Linked DNA regions of Homo sapiens: region 2 is linked to region 1. The links are contacts of gene promoters, found by promoter capture Hi-C in blood cells and fetal thymus (Javierre and others, 2016). All regions are on one chromosome and are shown on one strand. The core of a region is centred on a gene start or on the middle of the fragment in contact, and the rest is flanking DNA. Distances in the headings are between cores, read along the strand shown. Region 1 holds the start of ZDHHC12 (zDHHC palmitoyltransferase 12). Region 2 overlaps GLE1 (GLE1 RNA export mediator).

The links. Contacts are between HindIII fragments. The CHiCAGO score rates a contact against its expected background, and 5 or more counts as called.
Region 2: a contact is called between a fragment that was not itself captured here and the fragment with the promoter of ZDHHC12 in region 1, in 1 of 17 cell types (erythroblasts). The highest score is 5.4, in erythroblasts.

Annotation. Positions count from the first base shown.
Region 1 is chr9:128,722,049-128,726,070 of GRCh38, forward strand. ZDHHC12 (zDHHC palmitoyltransferase 12) reads right to left here and starts at 2,079. Exons shown (of 5, transcript NM_032799.5): 1 at 1,946-2,079; 2 at 390-526; 3 at 1-38. The coding sequence starts at 2,045. ZDHHC12-DT (ZDHHC12 divergent transcript) reads left to right here and starts at 2,414. Exons shown (of 2, transcript NR_046240.1): 1 at 2,414-2,587. RefSeq lists a silencer at 1,968-2,447. The HindIII fragment of the contact is 13,716 bases long and covers 1-3,892 here.
Region 2 is chr9:128,513,482-128,517,503 of GRCh38, forward strand. GLE1 (GLE1 RNA export mediator) reads left to right here. Exons shown (of 16, transcript NM_001003722.2): 3 at 2,048-2,158. Among named protein-coding and RNA genes, the nearest start is that of GLE1, 11 kb to the left of the region's middle. The HindIII fragment of the contact is 750 bases long and covers 1,690-2,439 here.

The DNA of each region.
Region 1 (4,022 bases), core at 829-3,328:
GGAGGAACCATGGCTGTCTGCTCCTCTTTGAGCTCCTCCTGGAATGAGGGGTGGGGTGTAAGACAGGGTCCCCTTGGGAGACAGATGGCATTGGCGGGCAGCTCCCCTAGGGGCCGGCTTAGCTCTGGGTATGGAGTTTGGGACCCATCCCATGCAGAATGGAGGTGTGGGGTATGGCGGAGCACCCTGGACTGAGGGCGGCTGTGTATGTTTGCAAGTCTCTTCCTTCTCTGGGGCCCAGCAGTTTCCTCACTACTGTAGATGGGGCTCTAGGGGTGGCAAGAGGAGTCACTGAACTGCTCCCACAAGAGCCTGCAGCACAGAGCCTGGCATGGAGACTGGTGCTGGTTGTTAGGTCCCTGTTGGTGAGAGTAGGGGCCCCTGGTTACCTGAGGCTGGGGCTGCACATTCACGTAGCCAGGGTCCATGAGTGACACAGCGAGGTAGAGCAGCAGGGAGCCCAGCACCAGGAGCAGGAAGGTGAGGGGCAGGAGCAGCTCCCCCTGCTCCTCCCATTGCCGCAGCTCTGGAGAGGCCGGAGAGCACAGTGAGGCTGGGCCGGGTAGAACAGGAGTGGGTGGGGTTGGGGTGCAGTTGGAGGTGGGGAAGTGTGTTCCTGGCTGAGCAAAGGCCTGGAGATGTTGGTTCCATGAGTGGCTGTGTGTGGCCAGCAGTTCATCTGCACTTTTATCTGGAGGGTCAGAGGGAACCATGGAAGGTTATAGAGCCAGATCTGTTTTGGAAAACCTCATTGCTAAAGAAATGGATCAGGGGAAGCCTGGGGGCAGAGAATCTGGCCAGGAGGAAGAAGAGAGTCGCTACAAAGGCCTGGCAGGAAGTGAGGGAGGAAGGAATGGACAGGGGGCTGCTGGGTCAAGGGAGCCAGACCTGACTGGATGTGGGAGAGAGGGAAGAGGGGTCCAGCGTCTCTGGCTCTGCAATGGTGAGAGACTGGTTAGGTCTGAAATGCCTGAGAGAGATACAGTGGGAAGGGTGCAGCTGGCAGGCTCAGATGCTGCAGAGGGGCATACGGAAGGGTCCAGCAGGCTTCAGCCCAGGGAGGTGACAGGATTTTGGGGAGGTAGGGTGCAGGGCAAGGAGTGAGGGGGCATGAGACCACCAGACAGCAGAGTGTAGACAAATCCTGTGTCCCTTGGTTGTAAGGGGGAGCAGAGAAGAAAGGGTGGGTTTTGAGGGGGGTTTTCTGATACGGAGACCTGAGCAAGTTTTTAGGCTAAAGGGTGAAGGTGGTGGAGGAGGTCTGTCTTGGGAGGAAAGCCAGAAGGGGCCCCAGTCCAGAAACTGAGGCTGGACCGCCATGGAAGGAGGGCTGGGGTCTGCTGTGGGGGACAGTGGGGGAGGCTGCCTGTGGCAGGTGAGGCGCTGGGTAGGGGGCTACTAAGAGGAATGAGGGAAATGGAGGTGGGTGGGTGGGTGAATCTGTGGGAAGATGGGAGACAGGCCGCACCCCATGGAGTGTTCTCTGGCCTGAGGGTTTGCCTGGACTTGGGCAGCTAGTGGCCATGGGGGTGTGGGGGGTGTGGGTGTGGGCAGAATGCCAATCTTTGCATCTAGTTGAGCCTCCTAATCGTATGGATAGGAAGATTTGGGGTCAGTTCCTGGGAAGGATCATGTGGGTCCCAGGATCAGGGGACATGGGGCTCAAGTCGGTCCTTGGATCTGGTGGGCACCGGCTGGGTCCTGGGATGGACAGGGCATTTGGCAATGATCAGGAAGATGCTGGGATTAATTAGGGATCAACGGGGTATCAGACAGAGAGCAGGTGGCTCTTGGAATGATAGATGGGGAGAGGGCTTCAGGAGCTGGTGGAGATCGGGCCAATCCCAGGATCTCCAGGGATTAGGCGGGAGACCCAGTGTGACCAGAACGTCTGGGGAAGTACGCGGGATCGGGTGGGTCCGGGGTCGCTCGGGGTCCGGCTCACCGGTATCGTGCAGGAAGAGCACCAGCGTGATTCCCCAGGTCAGCACGGTGTGCCCGGTCCGCACCAGGACCCCAGGGCTGAGGAGCGCCCAGGGCGCCATCGCCTCGGCCCGGGGCCCCACCCGGAAGAAGCGCCCAGAGGGGCGGGCCCTCCGAGGGAGGGGAACGCCGCCGCCCGGGGACTGGTGGATCTAGGCGTTGGGCGGGGCCGGACTGGGTCAGGGAGGCTGCCTATTGGATGGCATCTGCGGCCGAATGGACCCTCAAGCCAACAGGTGCCTGAAGAGGCTGAGGGTGGGGCCGGCGCGCGCGCAGCTGGTAACTCCCTCAACTCCAGCCCCACCCGCCAGGTAACTTTTGAAAGCGCCGGAGCGCGCGCGCACCTCCCCCGCGCTCCGCTGTGCCCTCCCCCGCGTTCCCCTGTGCCCGCCCTCGCAGCCTCGCGCATGCGCGTAGCTCCCTGGGCGCTTCGAAGATCCAGCGGCTTGCTGTGAGTCCGGGAGGCAAAATTGTACCCATTTCAAAGATGTGATGACTAAAGTCTCGAGAGGGCCAAGGCTCGCCCAAGGTTGCTCTGTGGTGACAGCTTTACCTCCTTGCTATGTATTCTCAGATATTGCAAACGGACGAGAGAAAAGTGGAGGTACGTGGTGCACATTCTGACTATGGGTGATCCAACTTAGGCGGGAGTCAGAAATCCCAGCACTGCCCCTTCCTACCTGTGTGACCCTGGGCGAGTTACTGAGCCCCTCTGAGCTGTTTTCTGTCTCTATAAGGGGGATTACAATAGTGTCTTCCTCCTAAGGTGTTTGGGAGGATTAAATAATGGAAGCGCCTTGTCTAGCACGGGACTGTCTTGCCTCTCCTGCTGTGAGCCACCACCTACAGGCGGACTTTCCTCACCGGAGGCTGCAGGCTGTCCTCCTTCCCTGTGTCCCCAGGGCCTTCTCCACTCAGCCCCGCCTTTCCACAGCACCTCCCACTGATACCAGCATCCTCCTCCGCCTCCCTCTGATTGGCCCCATCCCAGCTCCTCCAGGATACTCCTCTGACATCTGTTGTTTTTCTCAGCTCAACATCCTTTTTTTGGTTGGGGAATCGACTTCCCATCCCATGTGATTGGAGGGACTGCCCCTCACCCCATAGGATGGCGAGCGGCAGGCTGTGGGCTTTCGACTCTGCAGAACCAATCACAGGCCTTCCATGAGATTACTGTCTAGATGCTGAGAGGAAGGAGCATTCTTTTGGATCTCAAGCCTAAGGAATGGGATATAAGGCAACTGGGAGCCGTCTTTACGCTGGGCGGAGAGGGCTTACCCTGTCTGTGGCTGGAGAAAATGAGACCAACTTATAAAGACACATAGAGATGGATAAGCAGCACTAAAGGAGGGAGCAAGAGATGGTCTGAACAACATTGTCTGAGCCCTCTAGATCCGGCTGTCCCTGAAGCTGATACTGACTCTGCATCCCCTGGTTGCAAGAGTCAATGAATGCCCACCTTTTTTTTTTTTTTTTTTTTGAGACAGAGCCTCACTCTGTTGCCTAGGCTGGAGTGCAGTGGCGCGATCTGGGCTCACTGCAACCTCCACCTCCCAAGTTCAAGTGATTCTCCTGCCTCAGCCTCCCAAGTAGCTGGGGTTACAGGCACATGCCACCACGCCCAGCTAATTTTTGTATTTTTAGTAGAGACAGGGTTTCACTATGTTGTCCAGGCTGGTCTCGAATTCCTGACTTCAAGTGATCTGCCTAACTCAGCCTCTCAAAGTGCTGGGATTACAGGTGTGAGCCACCATGCCTGGCCCCAATTCCCACCTTTGACTAGCCTGAGTAGATGTTTGAGTTGGGTGTCTGTCATTTGCAGCTAAGTCTTGACTACTGCACTGGGTGCAGGATCTGATGTGCTCAGTGGGGACATCCAGCACATTATCCACTCAGCACATAATTCTGAAGCTTCCGTGGGTTAGGCACTGTGCTAGTATCAAACATCCCAACACTAGTTCAAATAGTAAGGCCAGATTTTAATTAACAATATACTACTGATAGGGCGGAGAGCCCAGTGTGAACCAACTGAAACTTCT
Region 2 (4,022 bases), core at 815-3,314, 210 kb before region 1:
CAAGGCAGGTGGAACATTTGAGCTCAGGCATTCGAGACTAGCCTGCGCAACATGGGGAAACTCCATATTTACAAAAAAATTACCTGAACATGATGGCTCATGCCTACGGTCCCAGCTACTCAGAAGGCTGAGGTAGGAGGATCCTTGATCCTGGAAGGTCATGGCTGCAGTGAGCCTAGATAGCACGACTGTATGCCAGCACGGGTGATAGAGTAAGACCCTGTCTCAAAAAAAAAAAAAAGAAAAGAAAAAAGGCGGGGTGCGGTGGCTCACGCCTGTAATCCCAGCACTTTGGAAGGCCAAGGCGGGTGGATCACGAGGTCAAGAGATCAAGACCATCCTGGCTAACATGGTGAAACACCATCTCTACTAAAAATACAAAAAAAATTATCCTGGCGTGGTGGAGGGTTCCTGTAGTCCCAGCTACTTGGGAGGCTGAGGCAGGAGAATGGCATGAACCCGGGAGGCAGAGCTTGCAGTGAGCCGAGATTGCGCTACTGCACTCCAGCCTGGGCAACAGAGTGAGACTCCATCTCAAAAAAAAAAAAAAAGAAAAAGAAAAAGAAAAAAAATAGGCCAGGCATAGTGGCTCATGCCTGTAATTGTAGCACTTTGGGAGCCTGAGGTAGGAGGCTTGCCTGAGACTAGGAGTTTGGGACCAGCCTGGGCAACATGACAAAACCCTGTCTCTACAAAAAAATACAAAAATTAGCCAGGTGTGGTGGCGTGCGCCAGTGGTCCCAGCTACTTGTGAGACTGAGGCAGGAGGATCAATTGAAGCTGGAAGGTCCAGGCTGTAATGATCCGTGATCACGCCACTATACTCCAGCCTGGGAAACAGAGTGAGATCTTGTTTCAAAAAAAAAAAAAAAAAAAAACTTAGAAAAGTTCAAAGATGAACTCTGGCCTTCAGGTCATATTTTTCATTCCTCAAGTCCATACTGGGTGTAGGAGGATAGCAGACTTTTTTTTTTTTTTTTTTTGAGACGGAGTCTCTGTATCCCAGGCTAGAGTGCAGTCGTACGATCTCTGCGCACTGCAAGCTCCACCTCCCAGGTTCACGCCATTCTCCCGCCTCAGCCTCCCGAGTAGCTGGGACTACAGGCGCCCGCCACCATGCCTAGGCACGTGCCACCATGCCCGGCTAACTTGTGTATGTTTGGTAGAGACAGAGTATGTCTTGTGTATGTTTAGTAGAGACAGGGTTTAGTAGAGACAGGGTATGTCTTGTGTATGTTTAGTAGAGACAGGGTTTCACCATGTTGGTCAGGATAGTCTCAAACTCCTGACCTTGTAATCCGCCCACCACAGCCTCCCAAAGTGCTGGGGAAAAAGGTGCCTGGCCTTTTTTTTGAGATGGAGTCTTGCTCTGTCGCCCAGGCTGGAGTGCAGTGGCGCGATCTCAGCTCACTACAGCCTCCGCCTCCTGGGTTCAAGGGATTCTCCTGCCTTAGCCTGCCTCCTCAGTAGCTGGGATTATAGGTGCGTGCCACCACGCCTGGCTAATTTTTGTGTTTTTAGTAGGGACGGGGTTTCACCATGTTGGTCAGGATGGTCTCGAACTCCTGACTTTGTGATCCGCCCACCTCTGCCTCCCAAAGTACTGGGATTACAGGCGTGAGCCACCACACCCGGCCTGAGGATAGAGTACTTTGATAGCCAGCTTTCTCCTGAAGCCAGGAGGATGGAAGCTTAGGGATGTAGGTTGGGGATACTCCATCCAAAGCATCCCAGGATAAATGGACACTGATCTGAAGAAAGGGGAAACATTTTCTAGGCAGAGTAAAACAAACAAGTCAAAAAAAACATAGAAAAACCCAAAAAATCACCCAAAGTAACAAACATCAATTTATTAAAGAAAACAATTAGAACAAAGTCAATGTCATTCATGAAAAGCACACTAGTTCTGACCTAAATTTTTTTTTTGCTCTTGTTATTGGTGGTTGTTCATAAGTTGGGATGTGGTCTTTGTCTAGAAGAGATAACACCAACTTTACCATATTAAAAACTTATTTTTTAATTATTTTTCCATTTTCTGCTCATATAGGGCAAAGATGAGTCCCAGCACACAGAATCTATGGTACTTCAGTCCTCACGGGGGATCAAAGTGGAAGGCTGCGTCCGAATGTACGAACTGGTACACAGAATGAAAGGAACAGTAAGTGAACCCATGAAGGAAGGCAGCCTTGATCCTGCGAGCCACATTTAACTGCAGTTCCCCAGGGCGTAGGAATGGGCACTGTATGCTACTCATCCTTCCCACCTACTGTTTAGTTTTGGGGGTAGTGTAATAGAGGTCAGGAGTGAGTGCTCTGAAGTCAAGTCTGGTTTCAGATCCTGGCTGTTACATTTTACATGTGACTTTGGGAAAATTACTTAGCCTTTTCTGGCTTCCATTTACTTCTCCAAAATTTGGAAATGGTCTGGGATTGTTAGATAAGCTTATTCTGAGAAAATGGGACCTTAGCCTCTTTTTTTTTTTTTTTGAGGTGGAGTTTTTGCTCTTGTTGCCCAGGCTGGACTGGACTACAGTGGTGTAATCTTGGCTCACTGCAACCTCCACCTCCCAGGTTCAAGTGATTCTCCTGCCTCAGCCTCCCAAGTAACTAGGATTACAGGCTCGCGCCACCACACCCAGCTACTTTATTTTCTATTTACTAGAGACGGGGTTTCACTATGTTGGTCAGGCTGGTCTCGAACTCCTGACCTCAGGTGATTCACCTGCCTCAGCCTCCCAAGGTGCTGGGATTACAGGCATGAGCCACGATGCCCAGTCAGGACCTTAGCCTCTTGAAAAAATAGCAGCACTATTTTAATTAATTTATTTGATTGTATTTTGTTTTTGTTTTTGTTTTTGAGATGGAGTCTTGCTCTGTTGCCCAGGCTGTAGTACAGTGGCACCATCTCGGCTCACCGCAAGCTCCGCCTCCCAGGTTCATGCTATTCTCTTGCCTCAGCCTCCCAAGTAGCTGGGACTACAGGTGCCTGTCACCACGCCCAGCTAATTTTTTGTATTTTTAGTGGAGACAGGGTTTTGCCGTGTTAGCCAGGACGGTCTTGATCTTCTGACCTCGTGATCTGCCCGCCTCGGCCTCCCAGAGTGCTGGGATTACAGGCATGAGCCACCGTGCCCGGCCTGTTTTTTGTTTTTGTTTTTTTGAGACAGAGTCTTGCTGTTGTCAGCCCGGGCTGGAGTGCAGTGGTGCAATCTTGGCTCACTGCAACCTCCGCCTCCTGGGTTCCAGCAATTCTCCTGCCTGAGCCTCCCAAGTAGCTGAGATTACAGGCGCCTGCCACCACGCCTGGCTAATTTTTGTATTTTTTAGTAGAGACGGGGTTTCACCGTGTTGGCCAGGCTGGTCTCAAACTCCTGACCTCAGGTGATCCACCCACCTCAGCCTCCCAAAGTGCTGGGATTACAGGCATAAGCCACTGCGCCCAGCATGTATTTTTTTTTAATTAGGAAAGCAATGCATGATCTTGTAAAAATGTTTCAGAGTACAGGAATTTAGAAAATGAAAGTCTTGGCCAGGCACGGAGGCTCATGCCCGTAATCCCAGCACTTTGGGAGGGTGAGGCAGGTGGATCACCTGAGATAAGGAGTTCCAGACTGGCCTGGCCAACATGGCGAAACCCCATCTCTACTAAAAATACAAAAATTAGCCGGGCATGGTGGCACATGCCTATAATACTAGTTACTGGGGAGGCTGAGGCAGGAGAATCACTTGAACCCGGGAGGCAGAGGTGGCAGTGAGCCAAGATTGTGCCACTGCACTCTAGCCTGGGCAGCAGGGCAATACTTTATCTCAAAAAAAAAAAAGAAAAAGAAAATGAAAGTCTTCTAACATCTTGCCTCATTGGTCATTGAGTCAATAAATATTTGCTGAGCACCTATGTGCTAGATGCTGTTCCAGGTCTAGATAAAACAGTAAACATTATAGACATAGAGCTTATATTGTGGTGGGAAGAGACAGAAGTAAACAAGAGAAATAAGTAAAATATTTGGAACATTGTTGTAATCT